4 separate regions of the Homo sapiens genome follow, and regions 2, 3 and 4 are each linked to region 1. The links are contacts of gene promoters, found by promoter capture Hi-C in blood cells and fetal thymus (Javierre and others, 2016). All regions are on one chromosome and are shown on one strand. The core of a region is centred on a gene start or on the middle of the fragment in contact, and the rest is flanking DNA. Distances in the headings are between cores, read along the strand shown.

Region 1 (3,162 bases), core at 164-2,663:
CCTGGGTTACAGAGTAAGACTGTTTTTTAAACAAAACAAAACAAAACAAAACAAAACAAAACAAAACAAAAAAACAGGCCGGGCGTGGTGGCTCATGCCTGTAAGCCCAGCACTTTGGGACACCAAGGTGGGCAGATCACCTGAGGTCAGGAGTTCAAAACCAGCCTGGCCAAAATGGTGAAACCCCCTCTCTACTATAAATACAAAAATTGGCTGGGCATGGTGGTGCGTGCCTGTAATCCCAGCTACTTGGGAGGCTGAGGCAGAAGAATCGCTTGAGCCCAGGAGGTGGAGGTTGCAGTGAGCAGAGATCGCACCACTGTACTCCAGCTGGGCAACAGAGTGAGACTCCGCCTCAAATAAATAAACAAACAAACAAAAAACCTAGACAAACCTAGAGCTCCAGTTTGAACCATGGTATGTCATCTTTTCACTGGAAGATGTGCTTTCAGAAGCGGCCTGAACATTTGGTTTACCTATTAAAATAAAAACTGTACATACTTTATGATCTATCTTTGAGAAACAGACAAATCTGCAAGGAGCCGTGTGGATCTTCATTGTCATTTTTTGTTGTAGTTAAAAGTGTAAAGTCAAAAGCAATCTGGGTGTACATCAATGGAGAAATAGCCATATTCACTCTGTGATAGCCATACTATGCAATTTTATGAAGCACTTAAAATAGATATAGTTTGATTCATACTAAAATGAAAAAGAGCTCCAAGACACGGATGCTAAAAAAAAAGAAAAAAAAGGAAGTCGAAGGATGATACTATACTGTACTGTACTATTTAAGACTTGTCAATCTCAGGTTCTCCCACCAAAACAGCACAACACATGAAGTAAGTGTATAGGAAATTTCGGAATGATGAACTCCAAACAGGATATGCATCTGTAGCAAGGGCTACCTCCGGAGAGAAGGGTAGGGGAATGAGGCGGTCTTTGACCTTGACAGTAATTTATGGTTTTTAACAAGGAGAGTGCATTCTTCATCTATTAGTTTTGCTTTTGTTGGCTGTGAAAATTAATTTTTTGAGAAATAGTACTGATTGTGATTTCTTCTCTATTCAGTGAGGAAAGGGAGTGACAGGTAATGATTCTGTATCAAGGCTGATTAAAGAATAAAAGAAGGCCTTTCTGAAGATTAAAAAACAAATAAAAAGTTGAGAAGAAAGAGCACGAAGAGTAGAAGGGAACAATGGTGTACTCGCCAGCAATGGCAATACGGGTTATTAAAAAGAAGGGTGGGGGCGGGGAACCCTGGCCGACTCAGGACGCCACGGGAGGAAGCCACGCAAAATAGCAAACCGGGATCCTAGAGGGGCGGGGCCCACCTCAGCGCGCAGGCGCAACCAGGCCCAGGTGGCCGCCGCGGAAGCGAAGCCACCTATACGCGCCGCGCCGCTTGGGTCTCCTGCGCATGCGCAGACGGACCTGCGCTGGAGGCTTCATCTTTGCCGCCGCTGCCGTCGCCTTCCTGGGATTGGAGTCTCGAGCTTTCTTCGTTCGTTCGTCGGCGGGTTCGCGCCCTTCTCGCGCCTCGGGGCTGCGAGGCTGGGGAAGGGGTTGGAGGGGGCTGTTGATCGCCGCGTTTAAGTTGCGCTCGGGGCGGCCATGTCGGCCGGCGAGGTCGAGCGCCTAGTGTCGGAGCTGAGCGGCGGGACCGGAGGGGATGAGGAGGAAGAGTGGCTCTATGGCGGTACGAAACTTCCTGTCTCTGTCTCTCGGGTTCTCTCAGGCCTCCCCTCTTGGCCCTCAAACGGCCGGCGTCCCTGGCCTCTCGCGCCGCCGCTTCGGGCCTCTGGTTGGGAGTCCTGTCCGGCCTGACTTAGGCCGAGCGCGGCGTGCGCGTGCCCCCAGTCCCCGCGGCGGTCTCCCGCCTGGCCCACGCCCACCATGCGCATCCACCCCTGTGGCGGCCGGGCCGGGCTGGGGGGCTGTGACCGGTCCTGGCCCCCGGCTTCGCTGTGCTTTCCCCGAGGCGTCTCGATCGCCTAGCTGCTGCGCTCTTTACCCTTGTTTTTTTCTGTCGATTCTGAGGTGGTGGTTTTTGGTGTCTGTTTTTGCCCTGTGGCCTTAGGGTGCCCTTCCTGTCCCTTCTTTCAGAAACAGTCATTCTGTAATAATAGCTAAATAAAGTTAATGCTGTACAACTAACGTCTTGTTTCTTGATGGTCAGTTTGTATGGAATGCACCTGCAAGGGTACCTCCTTGTCTGAAAGTCGTGCTTTAAAAATAATTAATTAAGAGAGAGAGAGAGAAAGATGGCCCATAAAGAAAACTCTGAATGTCTCCTGTATTAAGGTGAAGTTATTCTTTTTTAAGAGACTACCGTTTAACCTACATCATGGAGGTATCTCATGACCCTTCGGCTTATAGTTTTCAGTGTCATCTCATGTATTTGTTTTTCTCAAAATAAATTTAATGCATCATGTACTTCTCTCTAGAAGGGTACTTGTTTGACATCTGGTTTTTAACTTTAAGTCACAATCCCTTCTTGCTTGTTAACACCAGATTTGAAAGTTAATGTTTGTTCCTTGCCTAAAACATATATTCTTGATTGTCTTTAGAATAGAATAGTAAAAGTGCACTTTGGGCACCATGCAGGTCCTTGATGATGTGACTTTGATAAACTTGTAAAAAAAAATCGTTTGGTGGCAAGATTTAGCATTAGTTACTACTCTTTGAAATGTGAATGTGTAGGATTTCTTTTACAAAGATCTGGAAATCTTCATTACCTCTTAAATTTAAGCTTATTTTTATAGCAGTAAAGTCTGATTTTTTTTTCCATAAAATAAGTATCTTGTTAAGTAATTATAAGGTGATCTAACTTTGGATGTGCTTATAGGCCCATGGGACGTGCATGTGCACAGTGATTTGGCAAAGGACCTAGGTTAGTGCTTGTGATGATCACTTCAGATTTTCATAATACTAGTTTCTTTAAGAGTGGTTTCTTTATTTTGTTTGCTTATTTATTTATTTGTTTATTTTACTTGGTAGATGAAAATGAAGTTGAAAGGCCAGAAGAAGAAAATGCCAGGTTAGTGAAATTTTCTGTTGATGCCTATTACACAGGTTGTGTGAAACAATGGTTCTGTCAGTTGTCAAAATTATTTTCTTACAATCATTGGCTTCATTACAACACTGACTTACAACATTTTGGAG
Region 2 (3,068 bases), core at 366-2,865, 59 kb after region 1:
AGCTTAGTAAATTTATGAAAGTAGTTTTGACCTGGCAGATTCAGTAGGGTCTCAGGGACCTCCGGGAATTCCTGGACAGAACGTTGAGAACACTGCTTTGGCAGAAGCTTGGCCTGTATTGGATGAATATTATCAGTGCCCTTGAGGAAGTACACTTTTATCCCTTTAATTGAGAAACTAGTTTATGACTATAATGTTTATTAAGCTAATTTTATAATACCATGAATTTTTGGTCTTACTCAACAGATTACCTCAAATTAACTGGCACTGTTTGCCAGAAATGTAAGCATTTTCCAGAGTTACCATTAAAAAAGAACTCAAAGTTTTTGAAAACTGTATTTATTCTTGTGTTTTTCTATATTCAATTTAAAAAGCCTGCCTATCAGTGTTTTCATTAAATTCAAAACAGAGAGCAATGCTAATTATCTATAATAAATAGAATTTTCTGGCACAATTAAAATTTATTTAAATGTAAATTTAATAGAGATTAAAAGCTTTCTTAGGATGTTGATTTTTGAATGTGCTTTCTCCTCCAGGATGCACCCTTTATAATAGTTACATTTTGAATACATCATTGACACCACATTTTGTTGAATCTAATTACAGTTTAATTTGTGCCTTCTGCTTACACTGCTCTTTTGATCGTCTCATGATTATATGGAAGCTGGTAGAGATCATTTCTTTACAAGTTCTCTATTAAAAAACATAGGTATTTCTATCAAAAATGTTTTGTGTAAGATAGAAGTTTATCTTCTGTAGGCTTTAGATTTTATAAAATAGAAGAGTAACAGATCCTAATAAAGGTAACATAGTTTGTCCATTTTATAGTGTATGTAAAATTACCTTTTTTACCTTTTAGACATGAAGTATGCTGGTAAATTTTTGGTTACTTTGTTGTGTGACCGTACCACTTTTTAACCCTTTTTTCTTTTCTTAAAAATAACTTAAAACTTTTTTTGCACCTTGTAATTGTTTTAATTATGAAATAATGGTTTTGCCATATTCTTTCTACATTCTGGTTTGTATTTAAGGGTGGATGGTAGATGAGATGATACACGTGTGTGTGCGTATGTTTTTGTTTGTGTTGAATTTTTAAAATCCTGATACATAGAAACGCATTTCTGGTAGAAGGTGATATTTAAAGATTTTTGTAAACCTTGTCCTTTTCTACTCATTTTGAGTAAAACTTCTGAGCTTGATGGCTTTGAAATACAAGTCATGAGACTTAAGGAAAGTGATCAAGTTTATCTGTTTCTTAAATAATAGTGCCGACGGAACTTGGAATTTACTAGTGAGAAATAGGAAGCGTAGTTTACATATTCTGCCATTTTTTTTCTTTCATGTGAATTTGAATAGAGAAAAGATAGATGGTTATTGCATGTATTGGGTTTCTACTGCCGTATAACAAGTTACTCCAGAATGTAGTGGCTTAAAACAACATACATTTATTATTGAACAGTTTTCATGGGTCAGGAATCTGGGACAGCTTAGCTGGATCCTCTGCTTTAAGGTCTCTCTCAGACCTCACAGTCTTCTCCAAAAGCCTGACTAAGGAAGTATTTGTCTCCAAGCTCACTCACCTCTTTGTTAAAAGGATTTTGTTTTTTTCTAGGCTGTTGCATTGACAGGGCTTCAGTTCCTCACTGGTGTAGGCGTCTTAATATGTTAGCTTGCTTAATCAAAGCATGTAAGCCAAGAAGGCAACAGAGAGGGTGCCAGTGAAATAGAAATAACTGTCTTTTGTAACCTAGTCATGGAAGTAACATCCTTTGATTTTTTTTGTGTGTGGTAGAAATAAGTCACAATGTCCAGCCCCCACACAGGACATAAATACCAGCAGACAGGGATCATTGAGAGCCATGTCAGAAGCTATTTTGCCTTAGTTATATAAAATTATGATAGACTACATTGAGAATGAGTTTATAGACAATCTGTTTAGTTTTTTTGTGAGTGCAAAGCCCACTATTAATTTTGTGGGAATTTTTAGTATGGGTAAATTCTTTTTAATATGATGTTTAACAGGAATGCTGCCTTTCTGTTTCTTTGCCTCAGTTCTTTCAATCTCCAAAATAGGATTTCAGGTCTTACCCCCACCCACTTTTACATTTAAGTGTATGTGTTATATGCTGGAAAAATTAAGCTGGGTGTGGTGGCTCACTCCTGTAATCCCAGCACTTTGAGAGGCCAAGGCGGGTAGATTGCTTGAGTTCAGGAGTTCGAGACCAGCCTGGGCAACATGAAGAAACCCCATCTTTATAAAAAATGCAAAAATTAAGGCCAGGCATGGTTGCTCACACCTGTAATCACAGCACTTTGGGAGGCTGAGGCGGGTGGATCGCTTGAGCCCAGGAGTTTGAGACCAGCCTGGGCAACATAGCGAAACCCTGTCTCCACAAAAAATGCAAAAAATTAGCTGAGCATGGTGGTACACACCTGTAGTCCCAGCTACTTGGGAGGCTGAGGTGGGAGGATTGCTTTGAGCTGGGGAGGCAGAGGTTGCAGTGAGCCGTGGTCATGCCACTCACCCTACACAACAGTGTGAGACCCTGTCTCAACCAAAAAAAAAAAAAAAAAAAAAAAAAAAGAGAGAGAAATCATCTTCTCTTTTGAGAATGCCAGATGGTGTAGGCTCTCATAGTCCTTTTAAGTGTCATAGGTAGATGCTTTTGTTTCATAAAAATTCGGAATGGGATTTATTTAGTCTGTACTAAATTGCTCAGCAGTGAAATTAGGAGGGAAGCTTAGAATCGGATCCAGTGATCCTCATAGTATAGTCCTGGGCCAGCAACATCATCTGGGAAATTTAGGGGAATGTAGGTTTTCTGGTCCCACCCCAGACTTACTGAATCAGAAATTCTAGGGGAAGGGCCCAGCAATCTGTGTGTTTTAAGAGACTCTCCAGGTGATTCTCATGCATGTTCAAGGTAGTTTTTATTTATTTATTTATTTATTTATTATTTTATTTTATTTTTTTGAGATGGAGTCTCGCTCTGTTGCCCAGGCTGGAGTGCAGTGGCGCGACCTCGGCTCACTGCAACCTCCGCCTCCTGGGTTCAAACGATTCTCCA
Region 3 (3,222 bases), core at 614-3,113, 62 kb before region 1:
AAAGCTGTACTGTGTGATGAGAAGTGTGGGAAAACTATGTGATAAATTTTTTCAAAGATTTTGCACTTAAATCTTTCAGAATTCAACTCAACATCACTAGAGTAATATAAATGTTATATAAGCCAAAATTAAATGCAAGTCTCAAAATGATTTATCAGTGATTATAAGCACTATATCAATTCGAGATTAAATACTTGTCCAAGAAACAAAGCAATCAGCAATGAGCATTTCATTCAAAAATTACTCAACAGACTTCCTAATTAGTAGGCTTCCTACTAAATGAAAATCAGGAATTATGCTAAGTAGCCATGGCCTGAAGTATCCCACTTTGGGCCTTAGGTTGGAAGGATGGTACTTACTAAAACCTTTACAATTAACCGTTGATAACAGCACGAAGCACTGCATTATATGCAAGGTCTCATCTGGGCTCACTTCTCCAATAGCCCTCTGTCTCACCCAACATGCTATGTCCAAATTATAAATGAGGGCAGTGTTCTTTCCGGAAGATCTCTGCCATGTAGCCAAGTATACACATTTGTAGTAACGTTTTAAAAACTGAATACAAAGAAACAAGGATGACTTCTGTCCCTTTCTAAAGACTTTTTCCTCCAATTAAAGCCCTACTCACTCTCCTACTATCCACTTAGTAATAGTTCAAAAATAAATACATTTTTAATTTAGTTTTAAAGTTACATCTATTAAGATTTTAATTTAGTTTTAAAGTTATACCTAATAAGACATATCTTCCAAATTTGAATTGGATATTGAATAATAGAATGATGTATTTTTACACTGAGTTTAATGCCTGACACATTATAATCTTTCATTGAATAGTTTTTATTATCATGTATCTTTCCATAATGAACTAATATTACTGCTCAACATACTCCACTTGTTTTAATCTGATCAAATCTGTCATCATTATAACTCTGCATCTAATATTCTTAAGTTTAATTTAAGTAAGCAGGTAAACTACATGCCAAGCCCTGTATTTGGTTGGGATACAGATTTTTAAAAAGCTTTGAATGGCATAGTTTAGAAGACAAGGCAGATACAAAAGCAAATAAATTACTAAAAAAGTGTGGTAATAAAAGCCATGGTCAATGCTTGCATAGGTGTTTATGCAAGCATAATCCTAGCTGGGAGGATAGGGACTGAAGGAATGATTTCTACTGGAAATGATGAGCAAGTACAAAGATACATAAGCTCTAAAAGCAGCCTGGGAAGAAGTTAAAACTCAATCTGGGAAGGAAAATGGCAAAAAAAAAAAAAAAAAGCCTTCAAGAAAGATATAAAATCTTGGTTACAAAACAAGAGAAAGAAGGACATTTCAGAATGCAAAAAATCCTAGGAACATGACCCTGAGGAGCACTGTTCTGTTGCATGCCAAGGTGCACGGGGAGGGGCAGTGGAAGGAGAGCATAAAAGAAGGTGCAGCCACACTCTGGGGGTTCTGCATTCCTTGCCAAGTCATGTCAACTTTGATATGTAGGTGACAGGAAGCCAAGGAGCATGTGATTGATTTCACACTTTGAGAAGAACAGCATAGCTCAGCAGTTATGAATACAGTCTTTATCATAATTCAAAAGGAGGTCTGTTTGCTATGAGGCTTTCAGAAAGTTACTTAATTTCTCTAAAGCTCTGCAGGCAATTGAAGAACCATGGAAGAATTCTGAGCATGGGAGTTACAATCCCAGTTTCCCAAACTTATGCTTCATAATTGTTCTCTAGTCTCAACAATATCTCTCCACAAAACACAGGGATTTCTCACATAAGTCTCAACGCAACCCAGAACTTTCAGAGTAGAATGTCACTACCCTCCTCTTTTCCATGAGAATATGTATCTGGCTAATTCATCTCTAAAATCACAGTAAGTTAGGTAACGTTGTGGTTGCCCCATCAGATTGGTGTAGTGGTTTATGGACTCCGCAGTCAGATAAATCTGGGTTCGAACTCCAACCATGCTCCTCCTCACCCACTCCAAATACATGGCCTCCTAGACCATTCTTCTCCCGTATTCCAAGCAGAGGAACACTCTTTCTACAAATCTCTCTCTCCCTCCAGGTATCTGCTAAAACATCACCTTATCAGAGAGGTCTCCCCTTACTGCCCTGCTTAAAAAAGTGACATTGCCTATCACAGCATCTTATGCTAGCACTCTGTTGTCTACTTACTGGGCTTTACTGTTCTACATAATTCTAATTACCAGCTGACTTATTATGTTTCCATGTTTATTTGTTGTCTGTCTCTCTCATAAAAGGTGGGGTCCTTCTATGAAGGCAGGGACTTTGTTTTACTCATTGCTAATTCTTCACTACCTAGAACAGTGCAGATCTCTGGTGGGTACACTCAGTAAATACTGAATAAATGATACTTGTTAATTGTGTAACTGTGCACATAATTAATGCTCTCTTTTTGGTATCTGTGGAGTTGGAAGTTATAATAGTGAATTCACAGGATTGTTGTAGGATTAAATAATATAATTCATTTAAAGCACTTTCCTGATTCACAATAAATGTAAGTTGTGTGGTGGTGGTTGTAGTTGTTACTAGTATTACTGTTGTTATAAGTGGTATTGTCTTATATTCATGGTCTTTAATTCACTATGTTCAGGAGTTTGTGATATATTGGATGAATTCACTTACTTAATTACACTGAGTATGCTTATTCATACAATCTTGATTAGTGCAGATGTACTAAAGTCACTTGAAGCTTGTACTATCTGGCTCTTGTCTATTAAAATATTTTAGAAGAAATACAAAGTTTCCATGATCTCTAACAGTGATACATACTCAGGTCATGTTTTCTTAAAAATTGTTTTGCTGATATAAACAATTCTGGGCCGGGCGCAGTGGCTCACACCTGTAATTCCAGCATTTTGGGAGGCCAAGGCAGGCAGATCACAAGGTCAGGAGTTTGAAACCAGCCTGACCAACATGGAGAAACCCCGCCCCTAATAAAATTCAGAAATTAACCGGGAGTGGTGGTGTGCGCCTATAATCCCAGCTACTCAGGAGGTTGAGGCAGGAGAATCGTTTGAACCCGGGAGGTAGAGGTTGCAGTGAGCCAAGATCATACCACTGCACTCCAGCCTAGGCAACAGAACGAGACTCCATGTCAAAAAAAAAAAAAAAAATTCTGAATGTCTAGATATGTGTGAGAGTTCCTAATGCCTGCTTCCTGTCCTAAACAGTTTTCTAAACACGTCATACTAACTTCACA
Region 4 (2,880 bases), core at 158-2,657, 42 kb after region 1:
TTCTTCAAGCTAAATCTATATGTATAACAGTGGCATTTTATTGGTGTAAGTTTGCTTTATAAAATCAAATTTTTAACTCTTGTGAAACTAATTAGAAGAGTGAAGCAGTTTCAGTGAGTGCAGGAAATTGAAACTGGTAATATGGATGATTGCTGTAAACATATCCTAATGCACAGTTTATTTTTTTATTTTGTTTCCATTTTATGTTACCAAGTTCTGTTCCTCTTAATTTTCAAGTGATAGTTTATTTTTCTTAAGCTTATGTTCCTATATTACAATGCTTTTTAACTGATTCATACTCTTGAATGAATAGTAAAAATTGCTTTTCAATGTTAAATCACGAATACATTTAAACATGCATGTATTTCTTCTATTAAACACAATACTTATAATAAAACTGGACGTTAAATGAATATTATATCTAAGAATGACCTCTTCCTCTGACTATCTCCTTTTATGTCTTGATGAGACACTGTACTGAAAAGATGTGCCCATACCTTGGGGCATTTGATCAAGTGCTCTGAATGCATGTTGCTATAGTGTGTAGTTTGTAAGATTTTATGTTATTGGACATATGAAGGCCTTTGGGGTTTTTTGTTTGTTTTTTTAAGATTCTTGTAGAGCTGTGTCTTTTCCTATCATTGATACATTTAAAAGCATGAAATTAAGCATAAATATGGAAGGTAGAGCTTTATTCCAAGCTCTGTACAAAAGTGAGTAAACTTGTTTGCACTTTTGAACACACTTATGTCCTCCAGTGAGTGAAATTTGGGCTTATTTCACCTTTAAACATTCAAGGTTTTTTTGTTTTGTTTTAAATAGAGCTTAAAAATTGACATTTAAAAAATTCAGACCCCAGAAAATTAGTATGATAAACACTGTTGAAGAAGAAGGGAAGGGGTTTGAAGTTGGTTATGCTAAGCCTGAATCCTAGTGCTGCCACTTTACAATGCAAAAGAGCCTCTTTCCACATCTGTGAAAATGAAACTAATTGGATATGTACTTTACTTTTTATTTTTTCAAGACAGAGTCTCACTCTGTTTCCCAGGTTGAGTGTAGTGGTGGGATCATAGCTCCCTGCAAACTCGAACTACCAGGCTCAAGCAGTCCTCCCATCTCAGCCTCCCGAGTAGCTGGGACTACAGGCATGCCCACCATGCTCGGCTAATTTTTTATTTTTTGTAGAGATGAGGTCTCACTATGTTGCTCAGGCTGATCTTGATCTCCTGAACTCAAGTGATTCTCCTGCCTCGGCCTACTCCCAAATCACACCTGAGATTACAGGTGTGAGCCACTATGCCGGCCCCATATACCTTAAATGTGATGTACTTGTAAGGATTAAATAAATTCTAAGCTGTGAAAGCACCTATTTCAGGGCTTGAAAGATAAATCAGCCAGGCGCAATGGCTCACGCCTATAATCCCAGAACTTTGGGAGGCTGAGGTGGGCGGATCACCTGAGGTCGGGAGTTCAAGACCAGCCTGACCAGGCCAGGCGCGGTGGCTCACGCCTGTAATCCCAGCACTTTGGGAGGCCGAGGCGGGTGGATCACGAGGTCAGGAGATCGAGACCACGGTGCAACCCCGTCTCTACTAAAAATACAATAAAAATTAGCCGGGCGCGGTGGCGAGCGCCTGTAGTCCCAGCTACTCAGGAGGCTGAGGCAGGAGAATGGCGTGAACCCGGGAGGCGGAGCTTGCAGTGAGCTGAGATCGCGCCACTGCACTCCAGCCTGGACGACAGAGGAAGACTCCGTCTCAAAAAAAAAAAAAAAAAAAAAAAAAAAACCAGCCTGACCAACATGGAGAAACCCTGTCTCTACTAAAAAAAAAATTAAAAAAAAAATAGCTGGGCGTGGTAGCATGCGTCCGTAATCCCAGCTCGGGAGGCTGAGGCAGGAGAATTGCTTGAATCCAGGAGGCAGAGGTTGTGGTGAGCTGAGATCGTGCCATTGCACTCCAACCTGGGCAACAAGAGTGAAACTCCATCTCAAAAAAAAAAAAAAAAAAAGATAAATCAGACACTCAGTGAGTGTCGGATCTCCTCTTTCATCATGGGCTTTATCAGTCTCTTTAAATGTAGTACTGATAGAAAATAAATTGTATGTCCAGAAAAGTGTTTTGAATTCTGTGATTTTTATTTTAGACTAGGTTCTTTTTCTGGGCGGGATTTTTCATTAATAAATTGTTACTCGAACATTAGAATATATTTTCTTTATAAATTGTGTATATACTGTAGAGAAAATTATTCTTGTGCTTGTGGAAGTAAAACGTACACACAGGTATAGAAACAGTACCATTTCAGACCAGTCATGTTGCCCGGGCTGATCTCGAATTCCTGGGCTCAAGTACCACAAAACTAAAAGATCTGTAGAAAAATATGTAATCAATGATATTCTTATGTTGATGGATATGACTTTAAATTTTTCTTGAAATAAATATTAATTTTTTATGAGCTACTTTAAGTTCTTTCTGGAGGGAACAAAATGTCTAGCAGTCTCTTGAACATGCCCTTAGATTTGTAGTCTTCAACTTTGACCATATTGGAATTACCTAGGAAGCTTCAAAAAAGTATTGATGCTGGGTCCCAGAAATGTAATTTTAAATAGTCTGGTGTACACCCTGTGCATCAGGATTTTGATATGCAGGCAAGGTTGAGAACCACTGATTTAGAGCCTTGATTCTGGGTTGGCATAAAGATTAAAATCAAATGATAGCTAGGCACCTACGGTTTTGAAGTAAAATGATAGATGTAGTTACAATGGGAGCTGATATTTGTATAGCATTTTACAGCCTCACAGTCTTTTTCTTTATGTGCTTCTCATTTAATTTACATTTTCTGCCTCTTTGAATGTCTTTTGGTTGGTAACCACTATCAAAG

Evidence for each region. The method cuts DNA at HindIII sites, captures the fragments that hold promoters and counts their contacts. A CHiCAGO score of 5 or more calls a contact.
Region 2: a contact is called between a fragment that was not itself captured here and the fragment with the promoter of FIP1L1 in region 1, in 5 of 17 cell types (naive CD8 T cells, naive CD4 T cells, total CD4 T cells and 2 more). The highest score is 5.5, in naive CD8 T cells.
Region 3: a contact is called between a fragment that was not itself captured here and the fragment with the promoter of FIP1L1 in region 1, in 1 of 17 cell types (megakaryocytes). The highest score is 6.0, in megakaryocytes.
Region 4: a fragment that was not itself captured here is called in contact with the fragment with the promoter of FIP1L1 in region 1 in 5 of 17 cell types (total CD8 T cells, naive CD8 T cells, naive CD4 T cells and 2 more); the score reaches 6.3 in total CD8 T cells.

What each region holds. Positions count from the first base shown.
Region 1 is chr4:53,376,228-53,379,389 of GRCh38, forward strand. It overlaps FIP1L1 (factor interacting with PAPOLA and CPSF1), which reads left to right and starts at 1,414. Exons shown (of 18, transcript NM_030917.4): 1 at 1,414-1,696; 2 at 2,846-2,890; 3 at 2,998-3,037. The coding sequence starts at 1,612. It overlaps LOC105377654 (a long non-coding RNA gene), which reads right to left and starts at 1,513. Exons shown (of 3, transcript XR_007058118.1): 1 at 1,432-1,513. RefSeq lists enhancers at 1,132-1,680, 1,482-1,571, 1,622-1,741, 1,681-2,229 and a silencer at 1,902-1,991. The HindIII fragment of the contact is 4,469 bases long and covers 1-2,747 here.
Region 2 is chr4:53,434,770-53,437,837 of GRCh38, forward strand. The region is part of intron 13 of FIP1L1 (factor interacting with PAPOLA and CPSF1); the gene reads left to right. Among named protein-coding and RNA genes, the nearest start is that of FIP1L1, 59 kb to the left of the region's middle. The HindIII fragment of the contact is 2,246 bases long and covers 493-2,738 here.
Region 3 is chr4:53,313,988-53,317,209 of GRCh38, forward strand. The region is part of intron 2 of SCFD2 (sec1 family domain containing 2); the gene reads right to left. Among named protein-coding and RNA genes, the nearest start is that of SCFD2, 50 kb to the right of the region's middle. The HindIII fragment of the contact is 1,693 bases long and covers 1,018-2,710 here.
Region 4 is chr4:53,418,439-53,421,318 of GRCh38, forward strand. The region is part of intron 11 of FIP1L1 (factor interacting with PAPOLA and CPSF1); the gene reads left to right. Among named protein-coding and RNA genes, the nearest start is that of FIP1L1, 42 kb to the left of the region's middle. The HindIII fragment of the contact is 2,302 bases long and covers 257-2,558 here.